Linked DNA regions of Homo sapiens: region 1 is linked to region 2. The links are contacts of gene promoters, found by promoter capture Hi-C in human tissues and cell types (Jung and others, 2019). All regions are on one chromosome and are shown on one strand. Each heading gives the region's core, a stretch centred on a gene start or on the middle of the fragment in contact. The rest is flanking DNA. Distances are from core to core; before and after follow the strand shown.

Region 1 (3,538 bases), core at 57-2,556, 110 kb after region 2:
ATGTGGGAACATTTTTTCTTTTGAGATGGAGTTTTGCTCTTCTTGCCCAGGTTGGAGTGCAATGGCGCAGTCTCGGCTCACTGCAACCTCCGCCTCCAGGGTACAAGTGATTCTCCTGTCTCAGCCTCCTGAGTAGCTGGGATTACAGGCGCCTGCCAACGCGCCCGGCTAATTTTTTTTTTTTTTTTTTTTTAGTAGAGATGGGGTTTCACCATGTTGGCCAGGCTGGTCTCGAACTCCTGACCTCGGGTGATCCACCCACCTTGGCCTCCCAAAGTGTTGGGATTACAGGTGTGAGCCACCGTGCCCTGCTATTTTTTTTTTTTTAAACTGAGTCTTAATCTGTTACCCAGGCTGGAGTGCAGTGATGTGATCTCGGTTCACTGCAATCTCCATCTCCCAGGTTCAAGTGATTCTCCTGCCTCAGCCTCCTGAGTAGCTGGGATTACAGGTGCCCTCCACCATGCCCAGCTTATTTTTGTATTTTTAGTAAAGACGGGGTTTCACCATGTTGGCCAGGCTGGTCTTGAACTCCTGAACTCAGGTGATCCACCCACCTCGGCCTCCCAAAGTGCTGGGATTACAGGCATGAGCCACCATGCCTGGCCTAAATGTGGGAAAATATAAATTCACTGATTATGTTAACCAATATAATGGTTAACATATATTGTGTTGAACATTATATGTGTGAAGTTGAACATTACTGGACAACAATGGTATGTTAACTGTGAGTGGAGAGATTGATGTTAAAGCATTCTGAGGTTCTTTGATTTGGGAGCAGAATAAAGTTTATTAGTTAACTTTGGATTAGGTAAAATATTCATGTGAAATATTAATAATCAATTGCAACCAATAAGGTAAGGAAAAAATGGCGGGGGGAAGGGAGTATCTCAATCAATGTGGTTAAATCTCAAAAACATAATTTTGTGCCAAACCAAGTTTACATAGTACAATAAAGCTTAAAAATAAGCAATATTCAGTAATGTATTTATTACTTAGAGATAAGTAAAAATTGGCAAAATTATAAAGAAAGGCAAAGAAGTAATTAATGAAAGGCAAAGAGGTAATTAACAAAATCAGGATCATAATTAGCTCTGGGAAAAGAATGGGAAAAGGTATTTGGTAATGTTTATTACTTAAGTTGGGTTAAAATATTTATATTCTTTTATTAGCATTTGTATTAATATTAGTGTTAGTATTATTTGAAATGTACATAGGCATTATAGAAACTGCTTCTTTATGGGGTTTTTATTTTTTATTTATTTATTTATTTATTTATTTATTTTTTTTTTTTTGAGACGGAGTCTCGCTCTGTCGCCCAGGCTGGAGTGCAGTGGTGCCATCTTGGCTCACTGCAACCTCCGCCTTCCAGGTTCAAGCAATTCTCCTGCCTCAGACTCCTGAGCAGCTGGGACTACAAGCATGTACCACCATGCCCAGCTAATTTTTGTATTTTTACTAGAGATGGGGTTTCACCAGTTTGGCCAGGATGGTCTCAATCTCTTGACCTCATGATCTACCCACCTCGGCCTCCCAAAGTTCTGGGATTACAGGTGTGAGCCACTGTGCCCAGCTTAGAAACTCTTTTAAAATTTGAAGTATGTTTGTACTTACATTTCTTTGCTATTGCAGGCCGGGCGCAGTGGCTCACACCTATAATCCCAGCATTTTGGGAGGCCGAGGCAGGTGGATCACCTGAGGTCAGGAGTTTGAGACCCGCCTGGCCAACATGGTGAAACCCAGTCTCTACTAAAAGTACAAAAATTAGCCAGGTGTGGTGGCACTCAGCTCACTGTGGTCAGCAGTGAGCTGAGATTGTACTACCGCAATCCAGCCTGGGCGACAGAGCAAGACTCTGTCTCAAAGAAAAAAAAGAAAAATTTGTTTGCTATTGCTGAGAAATACACTACAGACACCAAAACTCAGCGATTATAGACAAGAATCATTTACAACCACTCATATTTACACAGATGGTTTGGGGCTCTGCTAATCTAGGCTGGGTTGGACTAGGGGGCAGAGAAGGATACACTGCTTCTTGGGAGGAACTATAAAGTCACATGTGGCCGGGCACGGTGGCTCATGCCTGTACTCCCACCACTTTGGGAGGCTGAGGTGGGTGTATCATCTGAGATCAGGAGTTCAAGACCAGCCTGAACGACATGGTGAAACCCCGTGTCTACTAAAAATACAAAAATTATCTGGGGGTGGTGGTGCGCGCCTGTAATTCCAGCTACTCAGGAGGCTGAGGCAGGAGAATCACTTGAACCTGGGAGGCGGAGGTTGTGGTGAGCTGAGATCATGCCACTGAACCCCAGCCTGGGCGACAGAGTGAGACTTTGTCTCAAAAAAAAAAAAAATTCACCCTCGATATTTCACATAGGTTCTTTTCTATTTTCCCTAAGTGTCGGCCAGTCTGAGAAATAAAGGGAAAGAGTACAAAAGAGAGAAATTTTAAAGCTGGGTGTCCAGGGGAGACATCACATGTTGGCAGGTTCTGTGATGCCCCACAAGCTGCAAAACCAGCAAGTTTTTATTAGTGATTTTCAAAAGGGGAGGGAGTGTACGAATAGGATGTGGGTCACAGAGATCACATGCTTTCAGAGCAACAAAAGATCACAAGGCAGGAGGTCAGGGCGAGATCACAAGGTCAGGGTGAAACTAGAATCACTAATGAACTTCCATGCCCCACTGTGTACGCATTGTCATTGATAAACATCTTAACAGGGTTCAAGAGCAGAGAACCGGTCTGACTAGAATTTGTCAGGCTGGAATTTCCTAATCCTAGCCAGCCTGGGGGCGCTGCAGGAGACTAGGGCGTGTTTCATCCCTACCTACGTCTGCATAAGGCAGACACTCTCAGGGCAGCCATTTGAGAGGCCCCCCCGGGAATGCATTCTTTTCCCAGGGCTGTTAATTATTAATATTCCTTACTGGGGAAAGAATTCAGTGATACTTCTCTTACCCGTTTTTGGTAATAAGAGAAATATGGCTCTGTCCTGCCTGGCCCACAGGCAGCCAGACTTTAAGGTTATCTCCCTTGTTCCCTGAAAATCGCTGTTATCCTGTTCTTAAGGTGCCCAGATTTCATATTGTTCAAACACACATGCTCTACAAACAATTTCTGTAGTTAACGCAATCATCACAGGGTCCTGAAGCGACATTCATCCTCAGCTTATGAAGATGACGGGATTAAGAGATTAAAGTAAAGACAGGCATAGGAAATCACAAGTATTGATTGGGGAAGTGATAAATGTCCATGAAATCTTCACAATTTATGTTCAGAGATTGAAGTAAAGACAGGCATAAGAAATTATAAAAGTATTAATTTGGGGAACTAATAAACGTCCATGAAATCTTCACAATTTATGTTCTTCTGCCATGGCTTCAGCCGGTCCCTCCATTCGGGGTCCCGGACTTCCCGCAACAAACATCAAACTTGCCATGCTAACTATTTTTTTTTTTTTGGATTGCAGAAACGTATTAAAATTGAAAGACATTGTTTAATTAATCTTCTGTGCCATGAGAATCCATCAGGTTG
Region 2 (3,539 bases), core at 384-2,883:
CAAGCATTTTTGAAAAAAAAGACAATCTGTCTCTATTTTCTCATTGACTATAAAATTCCTATTTCAAAGCACTTTGAAAAAGATGTTTGAAGAAAAACCTATGTATTTTCTCGTATTATAGACAATTCACAAGAAAAAGCACACAGGCCAGATGCCGTGGATCATGCCTATAATTTCAGCACTTTGGGAGGTTGAGGCGAGCAGATTGCTTGAGATCAGGAGTTTGAGACCAGTCTGGCAGACATGGTGAAACACCATCTCTACTAAAAATACAAAAATTATCTGGGCGTGGGGGCACATGCCTGTAATACCAGCTACTCGGGAGGCTGAGGCACGAGAATCGCTTCAACCTGCGAGGTGGAGGTTGCAATGAGCCGAGATCACACTACTGAGCTCCAGCCTGGACAACAGAGGGAGACTCTGTCTCAATTAAAAAAAAAAAAAAAGAGAGAGAGAGAGAGAAAAAAGTCCACAAATGGCTTCTGAAGATAAGAAAAGATGCTCAGACAGCTTGAAATAAGGGAAGCTGAAATTGAAACTTTGCTGACAAATTATGTTTCATCTCTAATATTAGCAAATATCTTAACCTTTGGTAATAGGGTATGCTAGCCATCTTCGTCATACAAGCCCACGTGGAAGGCAATTTGGCAATATCTAGCAAAATTACAAAATTACAGTCCTTAACCCAGCAATTCAATTTCCAGGAATGTATCCTACAGATATTCTTGCAAATGTACAAATGACAAATGTACAAGATTACTAATTGTAATATGTTTATCATAGAAGAAAAAAATACCTTAAGTGTGAGTCAATATGGAATTGGCTAAATATGTTATATCTACACAATGTAATACTATATAAACTTAAAACTAGATTTCAACAAGATCTTTGCATTATTTGCAGATGGAATTTAATAAAATACAATAATTAGTTAGGTACAACTAACAACAAACTTATACTGAGATCTACATATTCCAATGAGAATTCATTTCAAATGTGTCATTAAATCTGAACACAGAAATAAATGGACCTTCAAACTAGCTCTTTATTGAGTCACAAAGTGTTAAGCCAAATTTTTAAAAAACAATGAAATCATGTTAATTATACATAAAAATTTTTTATTTCTTTTGTGGCCCTCCTTTGACAATATTTTATTAATTAACAATATAACTATAGCAAAGAAATGTGCTGTTAATTAATTTTTAATGTTAATTTCACCTCTCATTCATTTTCAGATTTTAGTTTTGTGTATGTTGATAATTTATGTAGCATATTAGTACAGAGGTACAGAAGTGTGATTTATAATTTAATATACATCTAAAGAGGATACATGCTTAACTTTATTAATGGAATTTGTGATAAAGTTTGCAGACTGTTGCCTTAGAGAAGAGCTCTCACTTGGACGGGAGGCCCTGGCCAAGTTGTGTAGTGAGGACAGTTGTTGAGAGGAAAAGAGAAAAAACGAGAGGTATTAAGGCCCAGAAGAGAGTTAGCACCTGCTTCAGAACACAAGCGTGCAGGATGATATAGCTTTTAGTGCCAAGAAGTAGAATTCTAGCATCTCTAGGTGGTGAGAAACAAAGGACTAAGAATTTTTCTTTCTCTAACACTCTAAAGAAAGGTTCTTGAGCTAGGAAAGGATTACTCGAGCCTTGTTAGAATCAGACATGGCTTCAGGGGATGCAGGACGCTCCCCTGAGCTGCCTGTCACCGACTAAGTGGAGCAGTGTTTCTTCCGCAGACTCAACTGAGAAGTCAGCCTCTGCGGCAGGCACCAGGAATCTGCCTTTTCAGTAAGACCTAAATTACTCTTATGAAGCCACCTGTCCCTGAGAACCAGCAATGGCAGGTTCTTGAAGGATGTAGAACATGATGCTTGGGGTTATCATTGCTACGGGTTTTGTTTTGACTTGTTTGAGATCAGTTAACATTCTAAGGCAGAGGATGGAAACCAACCTTATTTGTAAGCTCTGCATCTTTTTTTTTTTTTTTGAAACAGGATGTCACTCTGTTGCCCAGGCTGGAGTGCAGTGGCACAATCACAACTCACAACAGCCTCAACCTCCCAGCCTTAAAAGATCCTCCCACCTCAGCCTCCCAAACAGGTGGGACCACAGTCACACACCACTATGCCTGGCTAATTTTTGTGTATTTTGTAGTGACAGAGGTCTACCTTTGTTGCCCAGGCTGGTCTCAAACTCCTGGCTTCAAGCAATTTGCCCTTTTCACCCTCACAAAGTGCTGAGATTACAGGTGTGGGCCACCATGCCCAGCCTAAGCTCTGCATCTTAAACCTCGTTTGTCTGTCCCTCACAGCTTAGCACAATGCTGTACACCACGGACTGGCATGATCTCTCTGAAAAGGGCCAGATAATAATATGTTAGGCTTTGTGGTCTATACAGCCTCTAACACAGCTACTCAACTCTGCCACTGCAGCAGGAAATCAGCCACCAACAATATATTACCAAATGATGAGAGTAGCTATGTTTCAATAAAACTTTACATACAAAAGCGGGCCTGGTTTGCCCACGCTTGCTATTCACGTTTGTAATGTACATGCCCCTCATGCAATGCAGTTCCTTATCTTATTGCTTAGTCACCTTAAAGCCCTGCTTGTTACTCGGTGCGGTGGCCTTGCTGATGACTACTTATCCCTGTTTTGGGCCTAGCCTTTCAATGCAGGAATCCAGCCCCAGGGAGAGAAACTAATGACTAGAGAAGTTTCCAGGCAAGTGCAGAAAATGACACGGGATGAACATATGTAAGAACATCAAGTTCAGGATCCCGAGTAGTTGTCAGAAATTTCACTTCACCCCATCCCAGCAAGGCTGTTGTGTTTGGGGAAGACATTATTTTAAGAGGGGAGGAGATTGTGGAAAATCAGTAGGCAGCAGGAGACAGCGCTCTTGATCCTACTCCCATTTCAGACGATTCTATGGGGGCCTCTTTATTGTCCCTCTGCTCCCCCAGGTGCTTTCCTCCTTTCATGAGGCTTTGTCCTCCATCCCTCTTGCTCCCCAGTCAGGTGCCAGACTTTTAGGAGGCCGCCCGGAGCACTGGTTGTGAAGCTTAGCAAAGCAATGCATTTGCAATCTAAGATAAAACACTAGTACTTTGGAAGCAATGCTCCCACATTTTGAAATGCATCAAGAAAAGAAAAGGAAAGATTAGGTGCTTAATCTTCACCCTTCAATAAACCCCCAAACGATGAATCTTTTTTTTTTTGAGGCGGAGTCTCGCTCTGTCGCCCAGGCTGGAGTGCAGTGGCGCAATCTCCGCTCACTGCAAGCTCAGCCTCCTGGGTTCACGCCATTCTCCTGCCTCAGCCTCCCGAGCAGCTGGGACTACAGACACATGCCACCACACCCGGCTAATTTTTTTGTATTTTTAGTAGAGACGGGGTTTCACCGCATTAGCCAGGATGGTCTTGATCTCCTGACCTCGTGATCCGCCCGTCTCGGCCTCCCAAAGTGCCGGGATTACAGGCGTGAGCCACCGCGCCTGGCCTAGACGATGAATCTTAAAGTTTTCCATTCAG

What was found. The method cuts DNA at HindIII sites, captures the fragments that hold promoters and counts their contacts. A contact is called where the count stands out against the background at its distance.
Region 1: a contact is called between a fragment that was not itself captured here and the fragment with the promoter of LYZL2 in region 2, in 3 of the 25 tissues and cell types used here (liver, mesenchymal stem cells and mesendoderm cells).

Annotation. Positions count from the first base shown.
Region 1 is chr10:30,522,025-30,525,562 of GRCh38, reverse strand. No RefSeq gene overlaps it. Among named protein-coding and RNA genes, the nearest start is that of MAP3K8, 90 kb to the right of the region's middle. The HindIII fragment of the contact is 4,168 bases long and covers 1-3,390 here.
Region 2 is chr10:30,627,847-30,631,385 of GRCh38, reverse strand. LYZL2 (lysozyme like 2) reads left to right here and starts at 1,633. Exons shown (of 5, transcript NM_183058.3): 1 at 1,633-1,793. The HindIII fragment of the contact is 10,435 bases long and covers 1-3,373 here.